Linked DNA regions of Homo sapiens: region 1 is linked to region 2. Evidence: promoter capture Hi-C in human tissues and cell types (Jung and others, 2019). All regions are on one chromosome and are shown on one strand. The core of a region is centred on a gene start or on the middle of the fragment in contact, and the rest is flanking DNA. Distances in the headings are between cores, read along the strand shown.

What was found. Contacts are between HindIII fragments. The study calls those that stand out against the background at their distance.
Region 1: a fragment that was not itself captured here is called in contact with the fragment with the promoter of CORO7 in region 2 in 1 of the 25 tissues and cell types used here (pancreas).

What each region holds. Positions count from the first base shown.
Region 1 is chr16:4,653,329-4,659,377 of GRCh38, reverse strand. It overlaps MGRN1 (mahogunin ring finger 1), which reads right to left. Exons shown (of 17, transcript NM_015246.4): 5 at 2,015-2,132. Among named protein-coding and RNA genes, the nearest start is that of MIR6769A, 15 kb to the left of the region's middle. RefSeq lists enhancers at 4,231-4,730, 4,731-5,232. The HindIII fragment of the contact is 6,147 bases long and covers 1-4,727 here.
Region 2 is chr16:4,413,978-4,420,070 of GRCh38, reverse strand. It overlaps CORO7 (coronin 7), which reads left to right and starts at 3,475. Exons shown (of 28, transcript NM_024535.5): 1 at 3,475-3,612. The coding sequence starts at 3,553. It overlaps CORO7-PAM16 (CORO7-PAM16 readthrough), which reads left to right and starts at 3,475. Exons shown (of 31, transcript NM_001201479.2): 1 at 3,475-3,612. The coding sequence starts at 3,553. LOC124903635 (a long non-coding RNA gene) reads left to right here. Exons shown (of 3, transcript XR_007064963.1): 3 at 3,110-3,346. The HindIII fragment of the contact is 38,450 bases long and covers 1-6,093 here.

The sequences.
Region 1 (6,049 bases), core at 405-2,904, 240 kb before region 2:
AGGAAACATGAAACAAACAGGAAACACAGACACCTCCCAAACTCCCACTCCCCAGAGCTCAGCACACACGCCACACAGCACCCACAGTCACACGTGAGAGCAGGGTGCAGGGTCCACGCCAGTGATGCCGGGAGAGGACAGAGACTCCACCCACCCGAGGGAGTCTGGGGAGACGTTTATTTTACTTTTATTTTATTTTTATTTTTATTTTTTTTTTACCTTCCTAAGAAATGGAGTCTCGCTATGTGGCTCAGACTGGACTGCAGTGGCTATTCCAAGGTACAATCCCACTACTGATCAGCATGGGAGTTTTGATCTGTTCGGTTTTCACCCCTCCTTAGACAACCTGGTGGTCCCCCACTCCCAGGTAGTCTTACTTTTGAGACAGGGTCTCGCTCTGTCACCCAGGCTGAAGTGCGCTGGCACGATCATGGCTCACTGCAGCCTCCATCTCCCAGGCTCAGGCGATCTTCCCACCTCAGCCTCCTCAGTAGCTGGGACTACAGGCAAATACCACCACATCCAGCTAATTTTTGTATTTTTCATAGAGACAAGGTTTTACTCAGGCTTGTCTCAGACTCCTGGCCTCAAATGATCCTTCCACCTCAGCCTCCCGAAGTGCTGGGATTACAGGCGAGAGCCACCACACCTGGCTTGTTTTATTTTTAATGCAAGGACAAGGGAGGCTTTTTACAGAGAGTGGCTAAACGTCAGGAACACAGCCACAGGACTGGCCCCAGCGTAAGTCAGCTCATGAGGCCTGCTAGCAGGGCATGTGGTCAGTGTCTCCTCCTGGCCTCAGACCTGGGACCCACAAGGTCTACATTGTTTTTTTTTTTTCTGAGACGGAATCTCACTCTGTCGCCCAGGCTGGAGTGCAGTGGCGTGATCTCGGCTCACTGCAAGCTCCACCTCCTGGATTCATGATATTCTCCTGCCTCAGCCTCCCCAGTAGGTGGGACTACAGGCGCCCGCCACCACACCCGGGTAATTTTTTTGTATTTTTAGTAGAGACGGGGTTTCACCGTGTTAGCCAGGATGGTCTTGATCTCCTGACCTCGTGATCCGCCTGCCTCGGCCTCCCAAAGTGCTGGGATTACAGGCATGAGCCACCGCGCCCGGCCACACAAGGTCTGTACTGTTACACAGGAACCCCCTGGACCAGGGTCTTTGCAAGCTGCAGACCAGATGGACGCTGGAAAACAAGGCAAAGGGGGAAGGAGGGAGGACACAGCTTTGACTAAAAGCTGGAGAGGGGCCTAGGAGGAGCAACTAGCAAAGCAGCCACTCAAGCCGCAACCTACAAAAGACCTGGTTAAAAGAGGTCTGCAGCAATGGCCGGGCACGGTGGCTCACACCTGTAATCCCAGCACTTTGGGAGGCCGAGGCCGGCGGATCACAAGGTCAGGAGATCAAGACCATCCTGGCTAACACGGTGAAACCCCGTCTCTACTAAAAATACAAAAAATTAGCCGGGCGTGGTGGCAGGCGCCTGTAGTCCCAGCCACTCGGGAGGCTGAGGCAGAATGCTGTGAACCCAGGAGGCAGAGGTTGTAGTGATCCGAGATCGCGCCACTGCACTGCAGCCTGGGCGACAGAGCGAGACTGTCTCAAAAAAAAAAAAAAAAAAAAAAAAAAAGGATGTCTGCACCAAGATTTTAAACAAAAGTAAGGTTAAAAAGCTTGAAGGAATGCCACCTGGTGTGAACAGACCCTGCATTGCTGCAGCCTGGCAGGGGGTGCCCCATTCTTCACATCTCCCCAAACCCCAGTGTCTGAGCCTCCGAGTGCGGCTGCCTGGTCGGCCTCTGGTCCCCTGGCCCCATCAGCACATGGCCCAGGCCTTGCTCCCGCCCATCCACACGTCCACCTGAGCACAGACTGGGGCGGCCGTTCCCAGGTCTTATGAACCCTGGAGGAAGCCAAACACACAGACCCCACTGTGCTGGCCCCACCCCCAAGGGGAGAGAATTCAGGAGGAGCGAAGGGCAAGGAGCCGCCCAGCCAGCATTACCTCGTCATCCTTCCATTCCGAGAAGTCAATCTTGAAGGAGGGCAGGGAGAACTGCTGGCTCACCCCTCTCTTGTAGTGGACGGTCTCGGACTGTAGCGAGGGGCTCTTGGGGCTGTATCTGCAGGGAGCCAGGAGCAAGCAGTGAGGCTGCGGCAGGAAGAGGGCCCTCCGTGCCCGTCCCTCCCACTCCGACAGCTGGAAGGGCCGCAGACACCTGTCTTTTGGGGACCCTCTCTCATGGGGAACAGCAAACAGCCTACATGGCCACGTGGCCCTCACCCTTCCAGGGCCTTCCACGGCCTCTCTGCTCACCATGCAGCTCTCCCCAGGTCAGGCCTGGCTACAATTCTCCCAGAGCCCACACCTGCCCAATCCCTTTGATACCTCCCCAGTGTAGCTGTGCTTTTCCTTTCCATCGGTGCTAAGTTGGTTTGTTTATTTATTTATTTATTTATTTATTTATTTATTTATTTATTTATTTTTGAGATAAGAGTCTCGCTCTGTCGCCTGGGCTGGAGTGCAGTGTTGTGATCTCAGCTCACTGCAACCTCTGCCTTCTGAGTTCAAGTGATCCTCCTGCCTCAGCTTCCCAAGTAGCTAGGATTACAGGTGTGCGCCACCATGCTAGGCTAATATTTTATTTTTAGTACAGATGGGGTTTCACCATGTTGGCCAAGCTGGTCTCGAACTCCTGACCTCAAGTGATGCACCTGCCTCAGCCTCCCAAAGTGCTGGGATTACAGGCCTGAGTCACTGCACCCAGCTTGAGTTTACTTTTTAAATGAACACAGTACTTAAGTATACACAGTGCAAAATGCATCTTCCCCAACCCTCACGCCTGCTCCCAGAGGCCTGCTGTCCGCCCCAGCAGAGACCCACAGATCACTCCCGGAAGGCGGAGGCACAATGGTGCCCACATGCAGCGCGGGTCTCTCTTCCTCAACGTTCAGACGGGGTAGGCGTCAACACTGCTCTTTCATGCGTCTGCACACATCAGGGGCTGTGTCCTGTGAACCACCACACAGGTCCCGCTTTGGTTTTACTGATTCAGTCAGGGCCCCTGGGGGACACCAGCAGATGGTCACCAACATCTCACTTTTCCCAACACTGCTTCAAGGACCGCCCTTCTGCATGTCTTAGCCACAGGCACGAGTGCATCCCTAAGACAGGTGCCTCAAGCAGTTTCATTTCTGATAAAACTCCATGCAGGAACCCAATTCACAATCCACAGCCCCTCCCCTCCACCCCACCGCCCTGCTTGCCTGTGGCCAGGGCTCCACAGGCTCTCCTGGACAAAGGCACACCAAGCTCAGAAATGGGATGGGGCGTGGGGGGGCCACCACTGTACACACAAAGGCAGAAGAGGCCTGCCATGGCCGCCAGAGCCCAGCATGGTTGGAGGCACTACAGGGGAGGCCCGGGCTCAGCCTCAGTAAAAGGCACAGTTAAGACGCCACCCTCAGGTGGACCCCAGCCTTCTCCTGTGAGATGCGGAGGCCTGGACACACCCCTCTGTCTGAGCCTCAGTTTCCTTGTCAGGAGGCAGGGAGGGTGGCTTGCCCTGCAGCTCAAATGGATGGAGCACTGGCAGGCTGGATGGTGTCCGGGTGCCTGGGCACAGCCTCCAGGTCCTGGAGCCTCCAGGTCCTTTTCTGTGATCCCTGCTGGGAGGGGAAGCTGGCCTTGCACCGCGTCCTGAGAGAGGGGGACAGTGGCACTGGAGCTGTTCCTGCTCTGTGATGCCTGCTGGGAGGGGAAGCAGGCCTCGTACCAGGTCCTGAGAGAGGGGGACAGTGGCACTGGAGCTGTTCCTGCTCTGTGATCCCCGCTGGGAGGGGAAGCAGGCCTCGTACCAGGTCCTGACAGAGGGGGACAGTGGCACTGGAGCTGTTCCTGCTCTGTGATTCCTGCTGGGAGGGGAAGCTGGCCTTGTGCCAGGTCCTGAGAGGGGGGGACTGTGGCATTTCTCTCATCACTAGCCCGCAGGGGTCTAGGAGAGGGTGACACCAGCCAGGGCTGGCAGGGCACCCTCTCTGCTCTCTCTAGCCTTTCTGGTAGCAGCGGGACCCTCTCTTCAAGTGCACTTGAGATGGTCACCCAGCCCCTGACAGCTGGAGCACTGGGGGGCAGCGGATAGACAACTTACACTGGCCTGTGTCCTCAGCCCACACCCTCTCTGTGGCAGCCCCTGGACACCTCGCCACAACCCAGCTCCTCCACCATGTCGGCCAGGCCCGAGGAGGGCACCAGGCCCCGTGGGTGTCAAACACTCAACCCCAAGCAGTGGGGTGCAAGGAGGGGACAGAGGGGCCTGCCCTGGTCACTCCAAATGCTCCTACGCCCAAGAATTCGACGCCTGTCATAGCACACAGGCATGCATTACTAGTGTCATTAAAGAAATATAATCAAGTGCCGGGGCAAGGTAGAGCCTCAAAGAACAAAGTCTAGAAAAAGGAACCTGTTCCTCCCCAAAGTGCTGCTCCACAGGAGGAGCCCTGGCTGCCGGGGAGCCCAAGGCCAGAGCCCAAGGGCGGCCTCACCTGGTGGCAGGTCCCTAAGAACCTCCCCACATAAGTCGTCTCCACCAGCCCCTCAACTCGAGCACTCAGGCTCCTTTCAAGAGCACCTGTCACGCGAGGGGCTGTGCACAGGACACATGGTCCCCTCCTCACACCACCCACCCGAACTTCCAGCTGAGGACACAGAGGCACAAGCAGTCATGTGCCCCCAAGCCACTCAGCGGGGACAGCATTCAAAGCCTAGGCTCTCAACCACACCCTATCCCCAGATGCAAAGCTGACCACTGAGCGGTGTGCTCCAGTGCAGGAAGGCAGGGGGCACGCTCTTGCCTGTCTCTAAAGCCACTTGGGGCACATGTGCCCTTGTAGCCTGGAGGCAGTCCTGCCAGCTCCTGCTGAAGTTGCAGTTTTCAAACTTTCAGGGCCAGAAGGACCCTTATCTCAAATAAAACCTCTGAAAGTACAAATATCTAATTATGACACAATAAAAAATAAATATTTGGTCCCAGCCCCAGTTCCTGACACAGAGTCCTCTAAAACCCTTGTCATTTCCTCAGCAACAGGGGTGCTAGGAGCCTCTTTTGTTCTAATATTTGTTCCTTGACCTTTGCTCCCAACACAGAACTCCAAACCCTTGGAATTTCCCGGGTGGTAGGAGTGTCTTATGTGCCAGTGAGGTGACTCTTGGCTCCTGGAGGTGGCTGGCTGCCAGAAAGACCAAGCCATGATTAGAGACTTGGAAGTGTCGTCTAAGAGCTCCCGAGGAAAAACAAACAAAAACCTGGGCCAGGTGGGCCGGGCATGGGGGCTCACGGCTGTAATCTCAGCACTTTGGGAGGCCGAGGCAGGTGGATCACCTGAGGTCGAGCGATTGAGACCAGCCTGACCAACATGATGAAACCCCGTCTCTACTAAAAATACAAAATTAGCCAGGCATGGTAGCATATGCCTGTAATCCCAGCTACTCGGGAGGCTGAGGCAGGAGAAGCACTTGAACCTAGGAGGCGGAGGTTGCAGTGAGCCAAGATCACACCATTGCACTCCAGCCTGGGCAACAAGAGCGAAACTCTGTCTCAAAAACAAACAAAAACCACTTTGGGAGGCTGAGATGGACAGATCATGAGGTCAAGAGATTGAGACCATCCTGGCCAACATGGCGAAACCCCCATCTCTACTAAAAATACAAAAATTAGCCAAGCGTGGTGGCACGTGCCTGTAGTCCCAGCTACTCAGGAGGCTGAGGCAGGAGAATTGCTTCAACTCGGGAGGCGGAGGTTGCAGTGAGCCAAGATTGTGCCACTGCACGCCAGCCTGGGCAGCAGAGTGAGGCTTCGTCTCAAAACAAAACAAAACAAAAACAAAACAAAAACCTGGAACTGAATTTCAGCCCAGCCCCATCCTCCAGGGAGGGGACAGGGGCTGGAGATGGAGTTAATCATCAATCCTGCCTACGTGATGAAGCCTCCAGAAAAGGCCCTGAAATGGGGTTTTCAGGAGAGCTTCTGGTTTGCTGAAT
Region 2 (6,093 bases), core at 2,226-4,725:
ATGAGCCACTGTTCCCTGGCTTTGTTTTCTATTTTGATATGAGCCCAACCCTATGAGGTAGGTAGCGGGAGGACTATTCCCATTTTTACAAACGGACACCACCCCGCCCACAAAGAAAAAAAACAACAATAAAATAAGCTCTGAAAGATGAAAAGACTTGTCCAAGGCCACACAGCTAGTAAGTGAGTGAATGAAGACCCAAGCCCAGGTCTTCTCACAACAAAACTGTGTGTTTTTCCTTTAAACCACGTGCCTATCAATCGTCATTGCGATCAGTATCTCCCAAGCATATGGCTCTTGGGAGTTTCTGAAGTACTTTCTCATGCTTATTTTCATTTGCTTTTCACAACAAAAGAGAGGCAGGGCAAGCATTTATTACTACCATGGGTACAAACTGCTGCCCTGCCTTTCAAGGACTTCTGCTGCAACTGGACACAAATGGATCCATCCCAGGCTTGTTGCCAAAGACTGCAGAAGCCACAAGCTACACCTATCCTCAGTGCCAGTCAGAATATGATCCCGTGTTCTCCAGGCAGAAGCTCAAAAATGTGAGCTTTAAGGAGAAACAGGCCGGGCACAGTGGCTCACGCTTGTAATCCTAGCACTTTGGGAGGCCGAGGTGGGCAGACAGCCTGAGCTCAGGAGTTTGAGACCAGCCTGGGCAACATGGCGAAATCCCATATCTACTAAAAATTCAAAAATTAGCCAGGCATGGTGGTATGCACCTGTAATCCCAGCTACTCGGGAGGCTGAGGTAGGAAAATCACTTTAATCCAGGAGACAGGTTATGGTGAGCTGAGATCACACCATTGCACTGCCTTGGCAACAGAGACTTTATCTCAAAAAAAAAAAAAAAAAAAAGGAGAAACAAATGTTACTTGCAAAGGGAACACAAAGTCGTAAGCGTTTCCCCCTCCACACTTTCATTTCACTAGACCAGCAATTCCACAGAGCACTTTCCCCATCTCCTGAGCTGTGGATATCTGTGAGAGCTGCGAAGGGGTTTAATGGTGCTCCCCGACAGTGCTGGGCTGAAGGCAATGGGAGACAAGACGGTCTCTGTGATTTCTTGCTGAAACCACTGATCATTTGAAGTATAATGGGACTGGCCAAGTTCATGGCTGCCAATGGCTGCAACTCTCCCATGTGAGCTCAGAGATCTTTTACAGAGGGCAGAAGAGCCTGAGCCCAGCTCTTCAGGGGCATGATTTGTCTTAAGTATAGCATTTTCTTTACTTCACACAGAGTATAGGACAATTCCAAGTGGGTGAGGAATGTGTGGTCCAGATGTTCTGGTCTGTGATGTCTGTAGCAGGTGCAGTTCCCTATGAAAGGGGATGATGAGCTGTGCCTCGGTCGCCTAGGATCCAGTGGGACCACTGTCCTGATGATTTTCTTTCTTTCTTTTTTTTTTTGAGACAAAATCTCGCTTTTGTCTCCCATACTGGAGTGCAATGGCATGATCTCGGCTCATTGCAACCTCCACCTCCCGGGTTCAAGTGATTCTCCTGCCACAGCCTCCCGAGTAGCTGGGATTACAGGCACCTGCCACCACGCCTTGTATTTTTAGTAGAGACGGGGTTTCACCATGGTGGCCAGGCTGGTCTTGAACTCCTGACCTCAGGTGATCCACCCACCTCGGCCTCCCAAAGTGCTGGGATTATAGGCGTGAGCCACCATGCCCAGCCACTTGATGATTTTCTTTTTTTTTCTTTTTTTTTTTTTTTTTGAGACAGAGTCTCGCCCTGTCACCCAAGCTGGAGTTCAATGGCACGATCTCGACTCACTGCAACCTCCGCCTCCCGGGTTCAAGCAGTTCTCTGCCTCAGCCTCCCAAGTAGCTGGGATTACAAGCACCCACCACCACGCCCAGCTAATTTTTATATTTTTAGGACAGACAGGGTTTCACCATCTTGGCCAGGCTGGTCTTGAACTCCTGACCTGGTGATCCACCCACCTTGGCCTCCCAAAGTGCTGGGATTACAGGCGTGAGCTACCGCGCCCGGCCAACCTGATGATTTTCTAAAAACCTTTTTGGACTGGGCGCAGTGGCTTATGCCTCTAATCCCAGCACTTTGGGAGGCTGAGGCAGGTGGATCACTTGAGGTCAGGAGTTTGAGACCAGCCTGGCCAACATGGCAAAATCCCATCTCTACTAAAAATACAAAAATTAGGAGTAGTGGCGCACACCTGTAATCCCAGCTGCTTGGGAGGCTGAAGCAGGAGAATCGCTTGAACTCAGGAGGTGGAGGTTGCAGTGAGCTGAGATGACACCACTGCACTCCAGCCTGGGCAACAGAGTGAGACTCTGTCTCAAAACAAACAAACAAAAAGCCTTTTCAATAAACCACAAGTGACTTTGGTTCACAGTAAATACACTTCTGCCCGAACTAAGATAAAATGTAAGCATTGCTTTTCAAACCTTAGAAATGCAAGAATCAGCTGGGTGCGTTGGCTCATTCCTATAATCCCCACACTTTGGCAGGCCAAGTTGGGAGGACTGCTTGAGTCTCGTTCGAGACCAGCCTGACCATCATGGTGAAACCCCGTCTCTTACTAAAAATAAAAAATTAGTTGGGCGCGGTGGCAGGCGCCTGTAATCCCAGCTATTCGGGAGGCTGAGGCAAGAGAATTGCTTGAACCCGCGAGGCAGAGGGTGCAGTGAGCTGAGATCGCGCCACTGCACTCCAGCCTGGGTGACAGGGACTCCGTGTCAAATAAATGAATAAATACTAAAGAAAAATTAAAAGCTATTATTATTATTATTTTTAGAGGCAGGGTCTCTTTCTGTCTCCCAGGCTGGAGTGCAGTGGCACGGTCACAGATAACTGCAGCCTCGACCTCTTGGGCTCAAGGGATACTCCTGCCTCAGTCTCCCAAAGTTCGGGATTACAGACCTGAGCCACCGCGCCTGGCCGGATGCAGAGCGCCTGGCCGGATGCAGAGGCTTTTGAGTAGGCCCGGTGGACAGGGATTTGCTTTAGACCTGGGCCCCTGTTCCCCCTCTGCCTCTTACCACTGGTGTGACCTGGGGACCGACAGTTTACACTCTCCTTTAGCCGGGGGTTTCCTGTCTCTGAAATGGAGCTAATTTCTCCCCTCTCTACAGGAAGAGGTAGATAGTGCTGGAAGGCGTGCTAGGTACACCGCAAAGACTCCACAGCAAATCCTGCACACAAAATCGCGAATGCTGCAGCCGAGACCCCACGCAAGCAAGCACCGCAGGAGACGTGGGCTGACAGCTGCGCCCCACGTGACCTCCCACCCGCGCCAGTCCGTCCCCTCGGTATCAGGGCGTGGCCTCGCGGGGCGGCCGTACCTGGATTGGCCGGGAGGCGGGACCGGTGGTGCGCGCGCGAAAGGAGAGGGGCTTGGGGGCGTGGCCCAGGGGGCCGGAGACGGCTGCGATTGGCAGTGGGGCGCGCCGGGGGCGTGACCGCGGCATTGGGTCCCGGGTGGGGCCGAGGCAGCGGGAGTCGCGGTTGCTCAGCGTGCACCTGAGACCCGACGCCCGGGGTCCTCGAAGACGCGTCCGCCGCCGTGCCCGTCGCCATGAACCGCTTCAGGGTGTCCAAGTTCCGGCACACCGAGGCTCGGCCGCCCCGCCGCGAGGTGAGTCCGGCCCGAGGACCGGGCGCTGTCGCCTCGGGCCCCGTCCGGCTGCCCCTCCCCCTGCCCGGACCCCACAGGGGTGCCCTCCAGGGCCGTCTGGAACCCCGAGACCTCCATCCCCGGGGAACCCCCCTTCAGGCCAGGGCCCCGGCGTCCGGGCCGTTTCGTCGCCGCCGGAGGGCAGAGTCCGGCACTCCCGTGACTCGCTCTGGCGCTCGGTGACCCTGGCGGTCTGCCCGCCTCGCCCACCTCGCCCCGGGACCCCCGAGGCGGCGCAGCCCTCCTAGCCGGGGCCCAGGCCTGCGAGGCCGCCTGCCTTCCCAGCTTCCGGTCGGCCTCGCCGGGAGCCGGGGCTCGGGGCGCTGCCGGCGCCTGGCTCCTCCTCCCTGCCGCCCCGGGTCGCCCCTGCCCCTGGCTGGGCTGTGGGGAGACGCCCCTCTCTCCTCTGGCCCCGGCGAGCCCAAGTGTGTCAGTGGTGGGGAGGGAGCCCCTCGGCCGCACGCGCCCCTCCCTCGGGTTTCCGCCGGTGCTTCCTCCTCTCGCCGCTGGCGCAAGCTCTTTCTTTATCTCGGTGATGCTGCCACGGCTGGGTGGGGCCTGGGGAAGCCTGAGCAGGTGGAGCCCCAAAGAATTGCTGAGCCAGGTGCCGGGAGACCCTTCGGACCCCCGAAACGGCAGGAGGACTGATGAGGGGTGCGCCTTGGAAACGATGTCAGCTCTGCTCTTCCGCTTTCCGTGTTATTTGTAAGGCCTGGGAGTGTCCTCCGATAACTGGGCCTAGGAGTTGACCTCAAGTGACCCCATCAGGGTCCCAGAGCAAGTCAGGGCAGTCTGGGTAGAGGTTCCGTTTTTGTAGTGTGGACTATATTTCCTCTGCTTCCACTTTATGCTGTGCTAAGCTGCTGGAGACATCCCGGTGAACACAACGGCATTTTCCTTCCCCTGTGGCACTTGTAGCCTCATGAGGGAGACAGCAAGCAGACAAACAAGAGCATTGGAGGTTTTCATAACGACATTGAAGAACACACATGAGGGACTGGGATGGAGAATGGAGGGGGCCAGTCTCAGTAGCGTGGTCAGGAAAGGCTGCCTGGAGTAGATGGCATTTTAGCTGAGGCCAGAAGGGTGAGAATTGAGAAAGAGCCTGGTGGAGAAATGGAAAGTGAGCATGAGTGGATGGAGGGGATGGCCGGAGCAGTATGGTGACAGATGAGTCCAGAGTGGTCCTGCAGAACCCAAGGGCCACCGGAAGAAGTTGGGTTTTATTCTGATTGCAGTGCAGAGCCATTGAAAAGTTAGGGGGAGGGGCTGGATACCATGACTCACGGTAATCCCAGTACTTTGGGTGGACTGCTTTGAGCTCAGGAGTTCGAGACCAGCCTGGGCAACATTGCGAAACCCCTCTGAACAACAAGTTAAAGAAAAAAAAATTAGCCAGGTGTGGTGACTCACTCCCGTGGTCCCAGCTACTTGGGAGGCTGAGGTTGGAGGATCTCTTGAGCCGAGGAAGTGGAGGTTGCAGTGAGCCGAGATTGTGCCACTACACACCAGCCTGGGCAATAGAGTGAGACACTGTCTCAAAAAAAGAAAAAAACAAACAAGAAAAGTTAGGAGGAGGTACCTAGGTTTGCATCAAGACAGCCGGTGGCTCTGAGTGCAGTTAAGTACTGCTTGGAGGGGTCTGGAGAATACTTGAGGGGCCCTAATTCTTGCTCCTGGGTGGGCCTTAGTCCAGCAACATAAACAGATAGGCATGGAACTACAGACTGTAGGGAGAGCTTAAAACAGTTTATGTTAGGGAGGCGGGAGAACAGGTGATCTGTTCTTTTCAGAGATATTTGCAGTCACTGTGTTTATACAGTAAACATGAATCAGGAGGGAGAAATAATAGGGTGGGACTGATGCTGTAACCATGGCAGGTGAACACTGATATAGAAACTTCAGGTGGTGGAGGTGGTTTCCGGGGTGCTATGGGTGGGTGGAGTGGGAAACATGGGTGTCCTGTCATCGAGGGCAGGAAGGAGTGCTGAGCGGTGCTTTGACAACAGAGAAAATGTGTGGACCTTGCAGATCTTAGTTTCAGAAACGTGCTCCTCTGCCTCCCCTTGGGTGGGGGTGTTTCTTTTACTGACTTATGAGACTTTGTGGAAAGGTGTGTCCTGATGAGGCCAGGCCTTGGTGGTTCCCCTCTCTGAGCTTGGGTGTTTTTCTCCGGGTACTTGGAGGAGGCCTGGCCACATTTTGCATTTTCTTTTTTTTTTTTTTTTTGAGATGGAGTCTCGCTCTGTTGCCCAGGCAGGAGTGCAGTGGCATGATCTCGGCTCACTGCAACTTCCGCCTCCCAGGTTCAAGTGATTCTCCTCCCTCAGCCTCCTGAGTAGCTGGAATTGTATGTAGGTGCCCGCCACCATGCCTGGATAATTTTTGTATTTTTAGTAGAGATAAGGTTTCACCATGTTGGCCAGGCTGGTTTCGAACTTC